Linked DNA regions of Homo sapiens: regions 1, 2, 4, 5 and 6 are each linked to region 3. The links are contacts of gene promoters, found by promoter capture Hi-C in blood cells and fetal thymus (Javierre and others, 2016). All regions are on one chromosome and are shown on one strand. Each heading gives the region's core, a stretch centred on a gene start or on the middle of the fragment in contact. The rest is flanking DNA. Distances are from core to core; before and after follow the strand shown.

What was found. Contacts are between HindIII fragments. The CHiCAGO score rates a contact against its expected background, and 5 or more counts as called.
Region 1: a contact is called between the fragment with the promoter of IWS1 here and the fragment with the promoter of ADI1 in region 3, in 1 of 17 cell types (total CD8 T cells). The highest score is 9.5, in total CD8 T cells.
Region 2: a fragment that was not itself captured here is called in contact with the fragment with the promoter of ADI1 in region 3 in 3 of 17 cell types (activated CD4 T cells, total B cells and total CD4 T cells); the score reaches 9.7 in activated CD4 T cells.
Region 4: a contact is called between a fragment that was not itself captured here and the fragment with the promoter of ADI1 in region 3, in 1 of 17 cell types (non-activated CD4 T cells). The highest score is 6.1, in non-activated CD4 T cells.
Region 5: a contact is called between the fragment with the promoter of FAM98A here and the fragment with the promoter of ADI1 in region 3, in 3 of 17 cell types (non-activated CD4 T cells, total CD4 T cells and activated CD4 T cells). The highest score is 11.2, in non-activated CD4 T cells.
Region 6: a fragment that was not itself captured here is called in contact with the fragment with the promoter of ADI1 in region 3 in 3 of 17 cell types (total B cells, naive CD8 T cells and non-activated CD4 T cells); the score reaches 12.1 in total B cells.

Annotation. Positions count from the first base shown.
Region 1 is chr2:127,524,798-127,528,012 of GRCh38, reverse strand. IWS1 (interacts with SUPT6H, CTD assembly factor 1) reads left to right here and starts at 1,524. Exons shown (of 14, transcript NM_017969.3): 1 at 1,524-1,838. The coding sequence starts at 1,805. RefSeq lists enhancers at 925-994, 1,235-1,284, 1,545-1,604, 2,135-2,194, 2,205-2,284 and 1 more and silencers at 1,030-1,203, 1,845-1,954. The HindIII fragment of the contact is 4,097 bases long and covers 1-2,038 here.
Region 2 is chr2:95,166,133-95,169,672 of GRCh38, reverse strand. The region is part of intron 1 of ZNF2 (zinc finger protein 2); the gene reads right to left. Among named protein-coding and RNA genes, the nearest start is that of ZNF2, 2.1 kb to the right of the region's middle. The HindIII fragment of the contact is 1,767 bases long and covers 728-2,494 here.
Region 3 is chr2:3,517,955-3,521,509 of GRCh38, reverse strand. It overlaps ADI1 (acireductone dioxygenase 1), which reads left to right and starts at 1,979. Exons shown (of 4, transcript NM_018269.4): 1 at 1,979-2,142. The coding sequence starts at 2,023. It overlaps LOC124907725 (a long non-coding RNA gene), which reads right to left and starts at 1,964. Exons shown (of 2, transcript XR_007086195.1): 1 at 1,554-1,964. RefSeq lists enhancers at 1,271-1,791, 1,792-2,313 and silencers at 1,733-1,862, 1,933-2,252, 2,333-2,392, 2,873-3,072. The HindIII fragment of the contact is 6,500 bases long and covers 1,398-3,555 here.
Region 4 is chr2:74,963,578-74,966,619 of GRCh38, reverse strand. All of the region lies in intron 3 of POLE4 (DNA polymerase epsilon 4, accessory subunit), which reads right to left. Among named protein-coding and RNA genes, the nearest start is that of POLE4, 6.5 kb to the right of the region's middle. The HindIII fragment of the contact is 878 bases long and covers 816-1,693 here.
Region 5 is chr2:33,597,632-33,600,879 of GRCh38, reverse strand. It overlaps FAM98A (family with sequence similarity 98 member A), which reads left to right and starts at 1,581. Exons shown (of 8, transcript NM_015475.5): 1 at 1,581-1,711. The coding sequence starts at 1,659. It overlaps LOC105374455 (a long non-coding RNA gene), which reads right to left and starts at 1,535. Exons shown (of 3, transcript XR_939942.3): 1 at 42-1,535. RefSeq lists enhancers at 1,068-1,297, 1,438-1,487, 1,518-1,587, 2,138-2,327. The HindIII fragment of the contact is 3,614 bases long and covers 1-3,130 here.
Region 6 is chr2:118,002,583-118,005,899 of GRCh38, reverse strand. The region is part of intron 3 of CCDC93 (CCC complex scaffolding subunit CCDC93); the gene reads left to right. Among named protein-coding and RNA genes, the nearest start is that of CCDC93, 9.8 kb to the left of the region's middle. The HindIII fragment of the contact is 980 bases long and covers 1,527-2,506 here.

The sequences.
Region 1 (3,215 bases), core at 275-2,774, about 120 Mb before region 3:
ATCCTGCTCCATTTACACAGGTGTACTCTCACCTTCTCTTTAGAAGAGGGCTTAGAGCCTTGATATCTTCTATCAAGTGATTCGGTTTCGGGCATTGCTAATTCTTTGTTCTTTTGATTCTCAAGACTGCCTGAGAAGATGTCATTCCCACAGCTGAAAAGAAGGAATTTGGATTCAATGCTGTTTCCACCACTTCGGAAAGGAATATCCATGAACTCTCTTGCAGGAAAATGGGAATTTCCAGAGAGAAACCACTTCTCCCCTTTCTTCTCTTCCCACGTCCTCTTCAGGAGCCTATAATTGGGCTCTGCCAGCATACTCTGACTGGCTAACGAAGGGTCAGATATCTGCAGTAGTAACAAAAGGCTCTTTTTCTACATGTCTACACCTCCTGGGGAGTCTTTGCTTAAACCTCTACTGGCCCTCCTCCGATCCAAAGGCAAGAATGTTCCCCTCTCTGTCCAAGACTAAAATGAACAAGTAAGGAAATGGATTTTACTCAGCCTATTGCAATAGGGAGAGCACTCCAGATATGATCAGTGTCTTGGCAGCGTAGTTTTGACTTTTATAGGGAGGAAGGTGGGATGATTGACAGTTGGGATTGTTTTGCAATCAGGAGAAGTTTCAGTCAGGTGAACAGGAAATGTTCTCTGTGTCTAACAAGTTGGGGGGAGGAGAGTTCTAATCTCAACTAATCACTCGATATCATCAGCGGGAATTTGGAAGGTCTGTTTGGCTTTATTAACAGGCTCAGAATAAAGGGGAAAGGTCTCTGGCCTTGTCACAGGCAAACAAGGGGGTCATCTGCACGCGTTTTATCTGAGTCACATGGAGACGGGTGGTTCTTTACAGTGTGCCGTTCCAGAAACACAAATAGATGAGGGGGTTTCTTAATCACCGCTGTTTTCCAGGAACACAGGGCTCAGGTAAAGTTCAACTTCACCTTCCTCCGGTGTTTCATCAGGGGAACCCTTCTGGAAGCAAAGACGTGTACTTCTTACTGTTGGCTAAATGGCTTCTTAACAAGGAAATTAAATCGTTGTTTAGAATGAAAGAGAGGAAGACGCCGGGAGAGGAGGCGCTGTGGATCGCGCCAGTTAGTAACGCATCACAGCTCGCGGGCGTCATACTACAAGTCCCAGTGAGCAACGCCCGCTTTCTTGCCTACTGCGGGCGGGAACCAGGCGCCTCTGGGCCTGACGGGAAAGACAGTGGTTTGGCTGAATGACGGAAAAGTCATTTGAGCAGGTCTTCATTTTTCGGAAGAGTATCTCAAAAGCTCTTCAAACAAGGCACGGACACAGAATCTAGGAAATGATAAAGAATCAATGATAACGTTATTACCACGGGGGTCAGACCAGGATCCACCCGAGGAAGGTATTTAACTAAAGCCCGAGTTCCAGCTCAATTTTCCCAGGAGTCTCCTTTCCGGCCGTGCCTGGCGTCATTGCTGTTGCGTCTTCTCATTGGCCGGTTGACGGGTTGCGGCGCCTGCGCGCTGCATTCCTTTGAGGGTCGTGGGCAGACGCCATTTTGGCCCCAGCGGTGCTTCTAGGAAGTAGAACGCCGGCTCGCATGCCTGCCCGCCCGCCAGCCTGCCGGGTACGGCCTTTTCCGCCGGGGCTTCCAGGTCAAAGAATTCGCCTTTGCCGCTACCGCTTTCTTACCCTCCGCACCCGTTAAGTTCTCCGGTCGGGCGGCAGTCTCTGAACACTTAGCCGCGCCATCCGGGGTCACACCGCCTGGAAGGAGGTGACGGGGGCGGCGCGGGGCGCGGACACTCCCCGCTGAGAGTCCGCCTGCCATGGACTCGGAATATTACAGCGGCGACCAGTCAGGTGGGGCAGGGACCTGGGGGACCGGGCTGGGAGGCGGAGCAGTTACTCGGCGGGGCTTGGCCTGGCACCCCGCGGGTGGGGGCAAGGAGGCCCCCCGAAACCTTCCCTCCCGCGACCCGGCCCGAGGAGGGCAAGAGCCCTCTGACCAGCTGCAAGCGTCGAAGCTAGAACGTTGGAGAGGGGATTCTGGTGGGAAAGCTTTCTTCTGAATCGGCGAAGGTTTTTGCTGAAATTGGGAAGTCACTTTCATATGTTAAGCTCCTATTGTGTGCAGGGAAGGAGAGGTGTCTTCTGTTAAGAGAGTTTTCAGTAGTTGAGTAGTTGGAGAATCCAAGGGGCGTTGGGGCGGGGGATCCTTCCTAGACTTTTCACTGCTAGTTAGGAGTGGTTTAATCTTGCTTGCAACACCGGACGTAAGTGCAGGACCCATGTTTCAGTTGCATGCATAGAGTAAGGAATGCGCTTCTGGCACTTACTGGTGGTTTTTGTGCCTTTCCTCCACCTTGAGATCGTTCCTCTTCCTCCTCACCGAAGTTTGGTCTCCTTTCTTTACTGTTTGTTTATTCTGTAAGCTGTTACTGGGGCCCACTCTGCTGGCACGGTGCTTGGCACCTGAGATTAAGGATAAGTGAGGCAGAACCTGGTGTGGGAAACACGTCGCATTTGCTTTCCCTTTGTGTGCTAGTCCTGTTGGGGCGTTCTGTTACAAAAGTTCTTAAATACACCATAAATAAATACACCCTCTATGTACCCACAAAAATTGAAAATTAAAAAGAAAACTTGAGTGCTTAAATAATTGTTTAAGCGTTAAGCCCTTTACTGTTTTGAGTTCATTGCTTTTCCTTACGTAGGACAGTGAATTCTAATGACTGCAAAGCGTTTTCCAGGCATGCACTGCTTAAAAACACTTTCCTAAGCCAGGTGCGGTGGATTATGCCTGTAATCCCAGCACTTTGGGAGGCGTAGGCGGCCGATGGCTTGAGCCCAGGAGTTCGAGACCAGCCTGGGCAACATAGTGAGACCAACACCACCCCCACCCCCCATGCCCGTACCCCACCCCCCTACGCCCCTACCCCACCCCCCTACTTCGTCTCTACAAAAAAATGCAAAAATTAGCCGAGTGTGGTGGCATACACCTGTAGTCCCAGTTACTCAGGAGGCTGAAGTGGGAGGATCCTTTGAGCCCTGAGCCCGGGAGGCAGAGGTTGCAGTGAGCGGAAGTTGCACCACTGCACTCCAAGCCTGGGCGACAGAGCAAGACTCTGTCTCAAAAAAAACAAAAACAAAAACAAAAACAAAAAAACACTTTCCTGATACTTTCAGAATAGTTTTTTTTCCATTCATTTGTGTTTTTAAGTTACTTTTTAAAAAGTAGAC
Region 2 (3,540 bases), core at 362-2,861, about 92 Mb before region 3:
GTTCAAGCGATTCTCCTGCCTCAGCCTCCTGAGTAGCTGGGATTATAGGTGCCTGCCACCATGCCTGGCTAATTTTTGTATTTTTGTAGAGGGTTTCACCATCTTGGCCGGGCGGGTCTTGAACTCCTGACCTCAGGTGATCTCCCCACCTTGGCATCCCAAAGTGCTGAGATTATAGGCATGAGCCACTGCGCCTGGCCGAGTTGCTGCTATTTTAGAGTAGGTTTAAATGTAAGTGCAGTAATAACTTTGGAGTCAAAGTATTTGTATATGTTTGTCTAAAGCACTGGAGCTTTTTGAACAAATCAAACCATATCCAAAACTGCAGTCGAAACTGCTCAGTGTTAAATGTTTAAAGACAATTTTCAAAGTTTTGTTTATTAGATTACAACTTTAATTAAACTGAGCACTGAACGAATTACAAATGGTGGTGAACATATAAGCTCCCCAGTTATTAAACAACCAGTGGATACTCCCAAAGTGCTCCTCATCCGTAGACTTCTCTCCCCATTAGGTTTAGACTCCACCAGCAGTCACTTCAGTAAGCTCACTGACACTGAAGACTTCTCAAATCCACCAAACTCACAGGGAGTTACTGCTAGCCAAGAACCACCTCCACTTCTGTGTTCTCTTTTCCTATCCCTGCATCTCAGAGTATCACTGGAGAAAATGTCCCCTAAATTCAGTCTATATCTTCAAACGAGCCCTTGACATCGTCCAGAAAGCTTTTACTGCTCCCATCTTAGCTACATGGCTATTCCAAACCTCCATGGGTACCATTCAATTTCCGCATAACTTTTGTCTTCTACCACACCAAAGATTCCCAGGAATGAGTTTCAAGGGAAGCAGGGTTATATGGTAGAAAGCATTCCACAAGCATGGAATTATTAACCATGAAGCCTTGGATGAGTTACTTAAGCCAACAGTTGTTTACCACCTAACTCACAGCATAGTTATAAATGGTGAGACCATTAATATAAAGCATTTATCATACAGTTCATTCAACAAATAAAGTTCTCTTCCTTTCTACTGCCCAATGCAATCCATCCACTCATCCCACTATTTGATGAATATGTACCAAGTAGCTGTTATGTGCTAGGGCAGCGAGATGTGTGAGGTCAACAAGACAGAAATGTCTGTCTCCAGGACTTTACCTTTGTGTCCTATACCCTGGGTTCCACTGTTTTTCACATTGCTTCCTCTCAGAATTTGTCCCTGCACTTCCCAGTATTTTTTTTTTTTTTTTTTGAGACGGAGTCTGGCTCTGTCGCCCAGGCTGGAGTGCAATGGCACGATCTTGGCTCACTGCAACCTCTGCCTCCCAGGTTCAAGCGATTCTCCTGCCTCAGCCTCCTGAGTAGCTGGGACTACAGGCGCGGGCCACCATGCCCAGCTAATTTTTGTATTTTTAGTAGAGACAGAGTTTCACCATTTTGGCCAGGATGGTTTCAATCTCTTGACCTCATGATCTGCCTGCCTCAGCCTCCCACAGTGCTGGGATTACAGGCATGAGCCACAGCGCCCAGACCCCAGTCTTTTTTTTTTTTTCTTCCAGCATTTTCCACCCCAGTAGCACTTTCTTTCAACATCTTCAAAGACATACAAGCCTCCTCTACCTGAAACTATTTTCACTGAATCCCATGACCTCCTTCTAGCAAAGCAGTTCTCATTTAGGTTGTCCTTTCATGATCAAACTTTTTGGAGAATAATAACCTACTGACTCCACACTGTTACCACTTACTCTTCTCCAGTCCCTGTTTTTCAGCTTTTGCCCCTCACACACCTGAAATGGCATGCTTGAAAACTACTTTTTTTTTTTTTTTTTGAGACGGAATTTCACTCTTGTCGCCCAGGCTGAAGAGCAATGGCATCATCTCGGCTCACTGCAACCTCCACCTCTCGGGCTCAAGTGATTCTCCCACCTCAGCCTCCCAAGTAGCTGGGATTACAGGCACCCGCCATCATGCCCTGCTAATTTTTGTATTTTTGTAGAGACGGGGTTTCACCATGTTGGCCAGGCTGGTCTTGAACTCCTGACGTCAAGTGATCTGCCCACCTCGGCTTCCCAAAGTGCTGGGATTACAGGCATGAGCTACCGCACCTGGCCTACCAATGCATTTCTGATCCTATTATCTCTATTTCTTTCTTTTTTTTTTTTTTTTTTTTTGAGACTGAGTCTCGCTCTGTCACCCAGGCTGGAGTGCAGTGGCGCAATCTTGGCTCACTGCAAGCTCCGCCTGCCGGGTTCATGCCATTCTCCTGCCTCAGCCTCCCGAGTAGCCGGGACTACAGGCGCCCGCCACCACGCCCGGCTAATTTTTTGTATTTTTTTAGTAGAGACGGGGTTTCACCGTGTTAGCCAGGATGGTCTCGATCTCCTGACCTCGTGATCCGCCCGCCTCAGACTCCCAAAGTGCTGGGACTTACAGGCGTGAGCCACTGTGCCCGGCCATATTATCTATTTCTCTGTAGCTTTTCACTGTTCGGACAAGCTTCTGCTTATTCAAGTGGTTACTGTAACTGCTATGATACTGCACTAGCTTTTCTTCCAACCACTAAAATTGCTGTCTTTCTGTGACTCTTTTTCCCCACTTTTGCCCTGGAAACATGGATGCTGCCCATAGCTCAGTCTTTGTACTTTCTTCGTTTTTGCCATCCCTCAGAAAGTCCATCCACATTCAGGGCTCCATTTTCAAACTCTACAGATGTCCATGTCCTGTAATTGTATTGTAATTTTACAATACAACTGTATTGCATTCTTCCAGACTCATCCTGCATTTCCAAATGACTGCAAACCTTAAATCAGGCGTTCCACCATCACCTCAAAACTATCTTCCTTTAGGCAATTCCACACATCAACGCCTCTTCCTGGCTTTACATTTGTATCAGATGTTTTATTGTTCTCCCAGGTGTCCCAAATTCAAACTCTTACCTCACTCTCTTTCCTCCCAAATCTAGTCACCAGGCCCTTTTGACTCTTCTTTTGCAGTGTCATCTGTATCCTTCCCTTTCACTACCACCACCATAATTCAAGTCCACAACATCTTACTCCAAAACTACCATACATTCCTAAGTAGCTCTCTGCTACTGGTCCTTTCCCCTCTCTAGTCCTGAATGTGACCTCTAGAATAACTGTCTCCAAATAGTTTCATTCGTGTCAGTCCCTGGATCACACCTATATAAGCCACCTTGCCTACTGAGTCTTGTCCTGATTCTCTGAGTCCCGGGCCCTGGCTCCCAGCGTACCTTTTCTTCAACCTTGTCTACCACTGTTCCTGCATTTCTGTAAAAACTATCTCCAGCTCAAATCTGCCTAACGCTTAGCTGCTTCTTTCGTGGTTTTTGTTTTGTTGTTGTTGTTTTTCTTTCACGTCAAATCCCACCTCCTCCATGAAGCCCTCCAGCACTCGTGCGGAGGCCCAGGGCAGGGAGCTAAATGAGGCAATCTGAGGCGCTGTCTGGCAAAGACGGAGCGGCAGCATCCTAGATTTGGTGTCAATTCCACCCACGTTCATTAAGCACCCATTATGGGAAGAAGAA
Region 3 (3,555 bases), core at 730-3,229:
CAGGCTCAAGCAATCCTCCTGTCTCAGCCTGCAGAGTAGCTGGGACTAGCGGTGCAAACCACCACGGCCAGCTAATTTTTGTACTTTTAGTAGAGACGGGGTTTCACCATGTTGCCTCGGCTGGTCAAGTGATCTACCCTCTTTGGGCTCCCGAAGTGCTGGAATTACAGGCGTGAGCCACAGTGCCTGGCATCTGGCTCCTATTTTTAAAAGGTCACTCTGGGTGCTGTGCATAGAATGGATTGCACTGGGGCAAAAATGGAAGCGGTGTGAGGAGGGGGAATTTCAGTAGTCAATTCCATCAGGCAAGAAAAGACTGCAGAAAGAGTTGGGCTGGAGAGAAGTGAATGGATTTGCGGTGTGTTTCGAAGGTCAAAGCAACATGACTTGCTGATAGATTGGATTGGATCTTGAGGGTGAGGAAAAGCAAAACTGAGAGTACACCTAGATTTTTTTATTAAGCCACTGGGCAGTCAGTGCTGCCGTTCACTGAGACGGGAAAGGTTAGGGAGAAGCATGTTTGGGGGTGTGTGTGGGGAATCAGTTGTTTTGGCCATGTTAGGTTTGACACACTGATTAGCCATGTATGTGACAACACCAACTGGATACTCAAGCCTGAGGTTCTGGAATGAGGTCCAGGTTGGAGATGTGGCTGCAGGAGCCGGCAGCACAGCATGGAAAGTCGCCTGGAGTGAGTGGATAGGAACAGGACGAGGAGAGTCTGGAACGCTCCACTAACCAGTGGTTAGAGGAGCAGGAGCTAGGAGGGGCCTGGGAAGGAGCAGCCAAGATGCCCTCATGAAGGAAAATGAGAAAATGTTTCAAGAAGGGCGTGGGCAACTGTGACGAATGTTGCTGGTAAGAACAGAAGTGCCATGATTGGATCTGGCAATATGGCAGTCATTAGCAGTTCCCCAGTGGTGAGAAGCGAAGCCTTATTGCAGTGGCTTAAGGAGAAAATGCGAGGTGCGAGATTGCCATTAGATTCTTGCATGAAGGTTTGTCATGAGTGCTGCAGAAAAATGGGCAATGGCGTCTAAGGTGTGTTCTTGAAGGATGAGTAGTAACTGGTCAAGTGAAGAGGTGGAGAGGTAGGCTCTCTAAGGAGGATGTATTTGCAAAGCCATTAGAGCAAGGGAACAGAAATGAAATAAGTGTGTATTTTTCTTGCAATATTTCTGGAAGTTCAAGAGTCAATTGCATGCATTGGGGTTGTGCTCTTACAGCAGTCTCATTTAAATCCTGTCTGCTTTATCGTTATTTGTTAAAGAGACTGAGGGAATGGCTGAGATAATCTGATCTTTTTCAACTCGTTGGTTTGAAAAGACATCTAGGATGGTCAAGCGGCTGGACTTTATTAGCTACATTGAAAAATTCAGAATGGGATAGGGGAAGCTTGTTTTTATTCTAAGACTAGCACATTACAGTGTATGGGGAAGGGAGAAACGATGAAAAGAGGAAACAAGAGGAAGTTTAAAAAGTACAGGGTAGCACTGCAGAATGCCGACACTGCAAAAGTCTGGCGAGCGGGGAGGTGGAGGACAATGTCTCACCTGGGATCCGAGCTGTGAAGTCTCAACTGTGCCCATATGGACTGCATGAGCTTAACAAAATCCTTATTCTTTTTTTTTTTTTTTTGCATTTGCTTTCCATACTCTAAACACGTTTAACGTCGTTTGCCTCACAAGATTGCTCTGAAGGTGCAGGGAGACCGCGGCAGCACACACAAGGCACGTGCGATGCCTACGGTGAGCTTCACCTGCCCGGCGCGTCTGGCGAACGGCTGGCCCCGGGCCGCGGGCCTCAGGCAGGTCCGAGGGTGCCCAGGACAGGGTCGGGGCTTGAATGCCTTTGCTTCCGAAAACAGCGGAGCCGTGGGGCCTCCCCCGCGCCGGCCCTGCCTCCAACCAGCCGCCCAATCCCGGCTCCCATGCGCGTCCACGCCTCCCTATAAGATAAAGCGCGGCCGACGGGCTCCGAGCGCGGCCCCTGGGTTCGAACACGGCACCCGCACTGCGCGTCATGGTGCAGGCCTGGTATATGGACGACGCCCCGGGCGACCCGCGGCAACCCCACCGCCCCGACCCCGGCCGCCCAGTGGGCCTGGAGCAGCTGCGGCGGCTCGGGGTGCTCTACTGGAAGGTACGCGAGCCCAAGCCTCGCAGAGCGTGCGGGCGACGCCGACCCCCAAACGCCGCGCACAGCCCAGCCTCCTCCAGGTGCCGGGCAGCGGCCTGGGAGCCGCGGCATGCTGCGCATGCTCAGCAGCGGGATTTGGGGGTTCGTGGCGGCTCCCGGTGCCTGGGGTGGGCTGCGCATGCTCAGCAGTGGGGCTGGGTGGTCAGGGCCTCCTGCGCGGCGCCTGGGTGTGCTGCGCATGCTCAGCAGCGGCGTTGAGGGGTCGGCGGTCAGCCCCCAGCGCCTGTGGTGTGCTGCGCATGCTCAGCAGCGAAGTTTACGGGGTTGGCGGTCGGCTTCCGGCGCCTGGGGTGGGCTGCGCATGCTCAGCAGCGGGGCTGGTGGGGGTCGGCGGTCCGTTTCTGTTGCCTGGGGTGTGCTGCGCATGCTCAGCAGCAGAGTTGGCGAGTCAGGGGCCTCGCAGCCGGGACTCGCTGCGCACGCGCAGCTCCGGGATTGGCAGCGACCTGAAGGGTCGGCCGGCAGGGCTGCAAGATTCGCCGGAGGCGGGCTGCGAGTTCGTGGGCTCGTTGGGCTTGTCCGACGCCCTGCCTGCCTGGCTAACCTCGGTCAAAGGCCCAGGGGTTTCTTCTATCGGAGGAAGGGGGACTCCGCTTGAAAGTGTCCTGGGGGAGGGACCGGGCGCCAGCAGATCGAGGCGGGGTCCTGCCGCGGTCTGTCGGGGATCCCCGGGGGGTAGCGCTCGGTGGTGGGGTGGGGGCGTCTCCAGTGGGCGGTGGAGCTGGCTTGGGTCCCGGCTGGGCCCGGTGTCAGCCCTGCCTCTGTAACGCTAGCTTTGCAAGGCGGGGCTAGGCTTTGCACCGGTGTCCCGTTGCTTGCACAGCACCAGTCCAGATCCGCTCACCTTGTTTATTTGCAAATGGTTTTGCAGTAACAAAGGTTTACTGCAAAAGAGAGGGCCAGGGTAGGCCTCAGGGATAGGCTGAGGGGTGACTGGATCTAATCTTCATTCATGTGATTTAAATGAAATACACAGGGTTACCTGGACACCACACTTTTTCCCTTGGGAAAGGATTATAGAATATTCCAGCATAATCTATTTGGATATCATCTTGTTCTATCCTAAATAACAGAAGAGGGAAGTGACAATTGGCATACCAGTGCGAAACAGGGCATGCATGTTAATGTTTACATAGTATTTGTCTTTTCCTAGGATAAGGTTTAACACTTACCTTGCTGGAGGGTACTTCTTCAAAGCAATCAAGTGGTTTATAGTTTTCCATTAATGAGAGGAGAATAAATTTTGACTTATTATGTTTATCCACAATCCAAACAACCAGAGGGTTCAAATTAATACACTTGGGGAGTTTCATTGTGCATTTGACGGTTTTAAGAACAAGAACAAGAGTGAGATTA
Region 4 (3,042 bases), core at 5-2,504, about 71 Mb before region 3:
TAGCCTGGTCAACATGGTGAAACCCCATCTCTACTAAAAATACAAAAAAAACTAGCCAGGCTTGGTGGTGCATGCCTGTAATTCCAGCTACTTGGGAGGCTGAGACATGAGAATCACTTGAACCCAGGAGGCAGAGGTTGCAGTGAGCTGAGATCGCACCACTGCACTCCAGCCTGGGTGACGAAATGAAACTGTCTCAAAAATAATAATAATCCAGAAAGGAAAGAAAAGCAAAGGTAGTATGTGACTAAATCCATATATCATTGACTGCATAATTCAGGAATAAAAATGCCTTATGTAGATTGACAAAGACAAAACAAAAATACATGACAATAACAGCACATAAATTAGGAGACGAGGAATTTGAAAATTGAGTTAATGGATCCTGAGATCTCAATTTGTTGAGAATGAGGGGAAAGGTACTAAATAGGCTTTGATAAATTAAGGACTTACATAGTAACTGATAATCACTAAAAGAATAGAAATAGAGCATATAACTTCCAAGCTGATAGAGGGAAAAAAATCAAATAATAATCCAAAAGAAGGCCAAAAATTGAGAGAAAAAAAAAACAAAACATAAAACAAGCAAATAAAAAGCAGGACAAAATAAGACAATAGAATTCAAACTCATAGATATGACCAATTACATTAAACATAAATAAATGACGTGCTCCAGTTATAGACACAGACTGTCTGAATTTAGGAAAATAATCCAGTTAAATTCTGTTCACAAATATATGGAAAGATAAAAATTAAAAGATTTACAAAAATCCGTACCGTGCAAATAAATACTAACTAAAGAAAGCTGATAAGCTTTAATAATATTAAACAAAATAGACTTTAGGGCTCAAAGCAGTTAGAAATAACAATAGCCAATTTACAAATATAAAAGGCTCAATCACCAACAATATATAACAACATTAAATTTGTATATATCTAATCACATGGTTTCATAATATATAATGAAAGAATAGACCCAGAAATATAAGTAGAAATAGTCCATAATCATAGCAGTAGAGTTTTAACACATAACTCTTTGAAACAGGTAAAATAAGCAGACAGAAGAAATTCAGTAAGAACACAGAAAATCTAAATTATACAATAACCAAATTTGGCATTGCAACCCCTCTAACAGCATCACTGAATTCCATCAAATATTCAAAAACAAAATAATTCCAATCTTTCAATAAGTTTTCCAGAGAATAGATAAGATAAAAAGTGGGCCAGGCGCGGTGGCTCACGCCTGTAATCCCAACACTTTGGGAGGCTGAGGCGGGTGGACCTTGAACACCTGAGGTCAGGAGTTCAAGACCAGCCTGACCAACATGGCAAAACCCCATCTCTACTAAAATACAAAAATTATTGGGGTGTGGTGGTGCGAGCCTGTAATCCCAGCTACTCGAGAGGCTGAGGCAGGAGAATCACTTGAACCCAGGAGGCAGAGGTTGCAATGAGCTGAGATCGTACCACTGTACTCCACCCTGGGCAACAGAGTGAGACTCCATCCCCCACCAAAAAAAAAAAAAAAATAGATAAAAAGTGTATAATTGCCAATGAATTGTATGAAGCTCACACACAGTATGAAAAAAAAAGACTAATCTCTTTTATAAACAGGGATGCAACATTCATAATCTGTTAAAAAATCTACATAAAATCTACAGTAAGCATAATTACTAGGTAAATACTGAAAGCTTTCCCTTGGAAGTCAAAAATGCCTGCTCTTACCACTTCCATGCAACACTGTACTAGAGATTCTAGCCAGTTCAGTAGGGCAAGAAAAAAATATATAAAGATAAGGATTGGAAAGAACTTCACAAAATTATTATTATTGGCAGATGATATACTACTATGTAATTAAAGAAATTCAAAAATCAACAGATATGTCATTCAAATTATTAAGAACTACATCAAAACAAAATTTTTAAGTAAAAAAACTAAGAATAACAGCTAAGAAAGATGCTAGTTGCAAAATTAACATAAAATCAATTATATTTCTAAAAACAGCAATATTTAGAAAATAAAATTTTCTTTAGAAAGATACCATTAACAATATCATCAAAAATATTAAGTACTTACAGAACAACATTTAACAAAATACATCAAGATTTCTTCAGGTAAAATAATTTATTAAAAACTAAATATTAATAAATGTTAAAGTAGACCATATTTATAAAATGAAAGGTTCACTATTGTAAAGATATCGTTTCTTCCCCACAGTAATTTATAAATTCAATACAATCCCAATTAATATCTCTTTTTGTGGAATTTGACAGATTCTAAAATGTACATGAAAATGCAAAGATTCAAAAATAGCAAAGATACTTAGAAAAAAACAAGGTGGGAAGATCTGCTCTCTCAGATAAAGCTACCATAACTGAGACAGTATAGTACTGATGTGAGAATACCCATCAATGGAAAAGAGATACAAATAGATCAATGGAAGAGAACAGAAAGGCCAGAAACAGCCTTGATTGATAAGAAAGGTAGCACTGCAAAGCAGTGAGATGACGATATGGACAAGCGGATATCTAAATATGAAGACACAAATGAGACTGGACCCCCAACCCAATACACAAAAATTCAACTCCACTGTTATGAAAGACAAAACTATAAAGATTTTAGCATATACAGAATGTCTTCATGACAATACAGTAGGGAATATTTTCTAAAATGAACACAAATAGCATTAGTTATAAGGAAAAAAATTGATACATTTGATTACCTTTATATTTTAATGCGTATCAAAAGACAACCTTTTAAGGAGTGAAAAGGCAGGAAAAGATACGTCTCATATACTAAAAAAGATTCATATCTAAAATATAACAAGCACGGCTGGGCGCAGTGGCTCACACCTGTAATCCCAGCACCTTGGAAGGCGGAGGCAGGCAGATCACTTGAGGTCAGGAGTTCGAGACCAGCCTGGCCAACACAGTGAAACCCCATCTCTACCAAAAAAATGCCAAAATTAGCCAGGCGTGGTGGTACACGCCTGTAGTCCCAGTTACGTGAGAATCTCTTGAACGTGGGAGGGGGGGCTGCATT
Region 5 (3,248 bases), core at 332-2,831, about 30 Mb before region 3:
TTTAGATATACCTCAATCTCAAAATCTAGTTTCATACTTACAGGCATTAAGATCGCTGAAGATTATTAAGCCACTCAGCCTTAGTGTCCTCATCTGTAGAATGTGACTAATATTCACACAGCCTTATGGTGACTGCATCATAATGGGCCATATCAAGTGCCCATGGTAAGTGCAGAAAACCTACCCCCACTTCAGATGATGCAAAATAAGGAAACTGAAAAAGGTACTACTGGCCGGGCGCGGTGGCTCACGCCTGTAATCCCAGCACTTTGGGAGGCCAAGGTGGGCGGACCACAAGGTCAGGAGATCGAGACCATCCTGGCTAACATGGTGAAACCCCGTCTCTACTAAAAATACAAAAAATTAGCTGGGTGTGGTGGTGAACGCCTGTGGTCCCAGCTACTTGGGAGGCTGAGGCAGAATAATGGCGTGAACCCGGGAGGCGGAGCTTGCAGTGAGCCGAGATCGCACCACTGCACTCCAGCCTGAGCGACAGAGCAAGACTCCGTCTCATAAAAAAAAAAAAAAAAAAAGAAAGAAAAGAAAAAGGTACTACTAAGGATAGGAACATCTATCCATCAGACACAAAAATGCTTGAGAACTATAGAATAAAATCAACAGGTATCAATATGAAAACTCTTTAATTAAATGCCTACACGATTTAACAGTACGCCAACTTATGGTTAAATATAGTTTTCTAAATATGCCATCACTTTGAAAACATTTCTGATTTTTCAGTAATTTCTAAACACACCCTCAGTAACTGCCAAGATATCACAACACATCCACATCGTGAACTCAATGTTTCACCCGGGCAAATAATGTCAAAAGTAATGACAGTACAGCCAAAAAGTTTATTCACTGTCTAAACTACGTGGATTTAAAAATATTCTATTCTATTTGCTATGGAGTGAAGCTCCCCTTCTCCTTAAAATAACATGCTTAGTGTCTGGGAAGGGCTTTAGACATCAGGTAGAGAATGCATGAGGGAAAACGACCCAACTTTCTGAACATCCATAGTCTGCGGAAAGTTGGCTCATCCCTAACCCTGAAATAAAGCTACTGCAGCCACGAGGAAATCAAATGGCACGCTATCTGCCGTCTGCACTTGGCCCGCACCCGCGTCCTGAAGACGGGAGCGCAAGAATTCTCCCTTTCTACATGACCTGCAAGCTAAGGCTAGCACATGCCGGCACCCTACGAAGAGCCACCCGATCTCCTGTCTGGGATGCAGAGACTCGGTTTAACAGCCGACTCCACCCGCGTCCCGAGACTCTTCCAAGCTCCTTCCCGGCCCGCCGCGCCCCCTACATTCGCACATGCGTACACCCAATAACGAGAGCCGAGAGCGCTCCCCTTCGCGTGGTCCCCACGCCCAGCTGCCACGCAGCCGGTCCTCCTACCCTTCTCTGGGCGGCTAGCTTCACGATCCAGTAACGCGCATGTGCAAAACTGCGGGCCCTGTAATTCTTTAGTGGGCAGGGGTGGGGCGGTCAGTGGGACCAAGTTTCTTGCGCACGCTCCGGACATGCGCAGTGCGGGAGCTGAGGCGCCAGCTGTGGATTTGGAAGTTCCGGGGAAGTCGCGCATGCGCGAGTGTACGCGTTGCCGGCGAAGAGGGGAGCCTGACGACTCGGAAATTTGAATACCACAGTAGCATGGAGTGTGACCTCATGGAGACTGACATCTTGGAGTCGTTGGAAGATCTAGGGTAAGATTGTCAGGGCACGGGTCTCCCAAGCCCCACGCTGCCGGCCCCCTGGGAACACCTCCTGCGCCCCAGTCTGAGACACCTGCCTCTCCACGCCGCACCCCGTGGCTCCTGGCTGTCGCTTCCCTTTGGCCCCGGCACCCCCAATGCCACGTCCACTGTCTGCACTGCTAGCTCGGGGTCCTCCAATCCCAACACCCCTAGGCCTGCCCAGTGCTCCCTGCAGGCGAGCTACCCGCAGCGTTTGTCAGTCATGCGTGTCATTGTCTGGGCTCTGATTTTCGCCACCCCCACTCCCCGAGCTTCTCTCCTCGCTTCATCCTCCTGCCCTACCCCTTAACCCCTCAACTCTAAAGGTTGCCAAAGTTGATTCTGCTTTCCTACTTGTTCTCCAAATTTCCTACTCCCATCTTGAGCCCCTCCTCCTACCCCACCCCACTTCTCTCAAAATTTCTCCTTTGCCCAGTCATCTCTGCATGCACCCAGGCTTCGCTAAGCCACTTGTATGGGCGCTGCATCTGTTCCGCTGGCCAGCTCGCTTGTGCATCTAACCTATCACCACGTCCCTGGGAACCACCAGCAGTTTGCTTTGACTCTGTGATACTCTGCCTCGTTGAGCCCCATTAGACCAGGGTCGTCTTCACCCACGAAGAACCTGCGTATTTGTTTTGCATTGTGTCTCTCCTTCTCCTGATATTTATTCAACCATAATTCATCAGTATCTAGAAGCTGGAAATAGGGTTTGTTATCTCACTGGGTCACCCAGATCAGTGTACTCTATTAAACTTGAGAACGTGGACCCTCTTGGGCTAAATGTGGTTCCAGAAACAAATTGTATGGTTAGATACTTACCTACAGGTACGGTATCAAAACAAAGTACAGATTTAGCTAGCTGTATTTCTAAGTAACAAGTTCTTTATCAAAATTTTCTCTTAGGTTTTTCCATGACAAGGAAACCTTTGAGAGAAACCTTTCTTTAGGAAAAAACACCTTGAGGATTCCCAAAGTCTGCCTATTTGAATAATTTACTACCCTAGTAGAAATTTTTAGGAACGAAGTAGTCTTGCTTATCATCTGTCTTTGTCACAGTGAAATACTATTGTTCTTTTCTTGGAAACTTGCTCTGAATTTTTATAAATATTCCAGACTTTAGGGGGCTTCTTTCTTTCATTAGGGCATATGTTAAAGTCATTCAGCAAAATAGTCTCTTTAGTTGACATCTCAGACTGAATCGCTTGTTCACACATGAAACCATTCATTCATTAGGACTTTTTTAGGAACAGTTTCTTTGTGGCAGTGTTAGGCCCTTAGAGTACAAGGTGAGGTGGAAGAGGGGTTCACAGGATACTGGGAAAATATGCTGTGAGGAGCCCTGAGGAGGGTCCCTTTACTGGGAAAGGAAATGAAATCCTAGAAGCTTCTTTCTGGAATAAATGACACTATAGTACTGTAGTGGAATGAGTGGAATGAAAGGAAGGGGGTAGACCTTATTAAATGTAGTCTTTCTGCATGGATAGTGGTCACTTAAGAATTGGCC
Region 6 (3,317 bases), core at 767-3,266, about 110 Mb before region 3:
ACTGAGCATCAGGAATGTTGCAATTTACTTTATATTTATACAGCATTTTCCCTGTAAGTTTCTAATTGCCTTTGTTTTTTTCTTGTTGACAAAAGAAGCATATGCCTTTAGCTGTAGCTCAGATCAGCCAGCTTTTTTTTTTTTTTTGAGACAGAGTCTCACTCTTATCACCCATGCTGGAGTGCAGTGGTGCCAACACCACTCACTGCAGCCTCGACTTCCTTAAGTGATCCTCTTACCTCAGCTTCCTGTGTAGCTAGAGCCACAGGCATACACCACCACGCCCAGCTAATTTTTAAATTTTTTGTAGGGATGGTGTCTCACCATCTTGTCCAGGCTGGTCTTAAAACTCCTGGGCTCAGGCAATCCTCTCGCCTTGGCCTCCTGGGATTAGAGGTGTGAGCCACCGCACCTGGCCTATGCTTCTTAATCAGGCTGTTCATTAGCATGAATTCTTTGTCTTCTTGAGGATGCTTTTCTTGGAAGCTTCTGTCTTTGAGCTGATTGCTTCCTATACCTGTGGCACTCTTGATGTGCTGGTATTTCTTTTCATTGCATTTTTTCTGTGCTAGTTTTACCATTTCTTGGATCCCACGTGTGCTTTTTTCCTAAATTCCCCTTGAGTTTTCCAGTGGTCGTTAGGCCCTGTTTTCATTTCGATATCCTTAGGGAATATGGTAGACTCCCATCAGTGGCAGCATTCCATTATACTTTTAATAGATATGGGAACACAGTATTTTTCTATGTCTTCTCAATTCCTTGTCTATATTTCTGAAATCTAAAAGACACTGAAAACTGTTTTTTCTTCTTTTAGGTTTAGATACAAAGCTTATTTGGGAGCAAAACATAACCTGAATTGACTGAATTTATAGCTTTATTGATCCCACTTATGTGACTATTTATAAGTTTTGCTAAATAAATTTTTTTTTATTATAGAGTGTGACTCTAGATTTTCCTGGGTTCTTACATAATATATAATATGTATCCCTTAGGTATTCTAAGGAACTAAATCTAAAAAATTCAGAATTCTGAAACACATCTGACCCAAAGGGTTTGGATAAGGGATTGAGGATGTGTTATATTCCCTGGTAAGTGCTTGATGTGTGTCTCTTAAGTGCAGAGCCATGAACTGTAACTGTGGGCAAAGCTGGAGACGGGTTTACGTGACTAAGGACCCACCAGAGTCAGCAGTGCATCAGGTAGCTCATTCTTTATTATCTGTAGAAGACATGTTACAGCCACAGGGTACTGAGTCATCTAAAAATCTTTTCTGTTTGGTTTTGGAATGTGTTCTGTTTGGTGTTCCCCCCCACCATAGAGTTTCTGGTTAGGTGCAGTTTAGACTAAAACTGCCTTATGTTTGCCGTCTTCCAGTATATCTAGTCAATTTAATGGGTGGGCTGGACGTATGTCCAAGGAGCACACTTGCCTATTGACGGCATGGTTGTCTCTCAAGCTGTCTTCTTTATGTGCCCAATTGAGGCCTTGTTCTCTGTCATCTTTCTTTGCTGAGAGTTCCATAAGCTTCTATCCTCTACTTCTATCTTCTTCTGAAGCCCCATTAACAGAGGGTCCTATGGCCAGAGGCCCATAAATGGGATTTTACATTTATAACTGAGTTCATTTCAACAACAAACATTTTATTGGGCATCTGTGTTCCAAGCACTTGCATGTGTATTTTATTATTTTACCTTCACTACCGCTTTGAGTAGGGATTATCCCTAGTTTTATGATAGGAGTATTGGACCTGGACCAAGTTACTTGCCAAAAGTTTCAGAGTTGTGGTGGAACTTGAATTTAGACCCAGGTTTAATTCACTGTCTTTCAAGCTGTTTGCAGTGGAGAAGAAAGCAGTGCACTGAACACTCTTAAAAACTAAAGGAGTCAAACTAGTCACAGCTGGGCATGTTAAAATCTTAGTCTAGGAAACCGGCCTGGTGACCTCTGCAATTGCTAATTTCTGTGATTTTTAGGAAATCTGAAGGATCCACCTAGAGCCGCAGGTAGAAGCTGAAAGGGGATTGTTAGATTTCTGGAAGAAGTCTTTCTCACTTTCTTTCCCTACCCCCAGCCTGCCTGCATTTTCCTCCATGTCCTCACCTTGGCTGCCAAGACTGTCCAGACTTGGCAGTAATTTCTGAGAGGTGGGTTTAAGAGGGTTGTAAATCCTAGGATGACCCGTGATAGCCTTCTCTCTGGACCTTTATGAACTGGGTGAGTAGGCTGGCTCCGAAGAGTGGCCAGGAAATGCCATGTCTGAAGGCAGGGGGTTAGGCTGGATGGTGGTGTGGGTCCCAGCCTCTTGTTTTTAAGCTATTATGTATGGTTCTAGGCAATTGGTAACTCTATGCAAACCAATATATCTGTAGCCACAAGAGGGAGCTCTCCTCCTGCTGAACCAAAATGTAACTAAGGAAAGGCTGTATTGATCACGTGCCCCTGCATAGTTAGTTGGGACCTGCATTGAGCAAAACCAGAACTGATATTCATTTTCATTTGCTAAGCTTGGAGTTTAGGCAGCAGTACCAGTTGAACACTCATCTCTTCTTACAAGTTTCAAGGAAATTAAATAAGCTATGAGAGTCTGATGGAGATCAAAATTTTAAAAAAAGCTTAACAGAGAACCTTAGATATGTTGCCAAATGGGTTTGTTAGTGCTTCACTACCAAGCTATCCCATGTGAGTCCCAAGCAGACCTGGACAACCACTGGCTTCCCCTGTGGGGCAGGCAACATATCTTATGGCAGAAAAGATGCATGTGTCCCAAAGACAGGCTGCCCAGAAAGGAAGGGCACCAGGAGTGGCTGAGAGCTGCATGAAAATTTTCTTCTTCCTCTCAGGACTTTTGTTTTGTTTTGTTTTAAGAGACAGAGTTCCACTCTTGCCTGGTCTAGGGTGCTGTGGCGTGATCTTAGCTCTCTGCAGCCTCAAACGCCTAGGCTTAAGTGATCTTCCTGCCTTAGTCTTTTGAGTAGCTGGGACTGTAGGAATGCACCATTATGCCTGGCTAATTTTTAAATTTTTTTATGCAGACAAGGTCTTACTATGTTGCCCAGGCTGGTCTCAAACTCCTGGCCTCAAGTGACCTCCCTCCTTGGCCTTCCAAAGCACTAGGATTACATGCATGAGCTACCATGCCTGGCCCCTCTCAGGACTTGTGGATAAATCACTCTTCACCCCTTCCTCTGTTAGGGAGGAAGGGTGAGGGGGAAGAGGCAGCAAATATTCTCCTATATGCTTCCCTCCTAGGAGGAAGATACTCCCTCTCTTCTATGAATGTGTGCAGTGAGGGATTAATCTCCCCCCTTCCATATTTT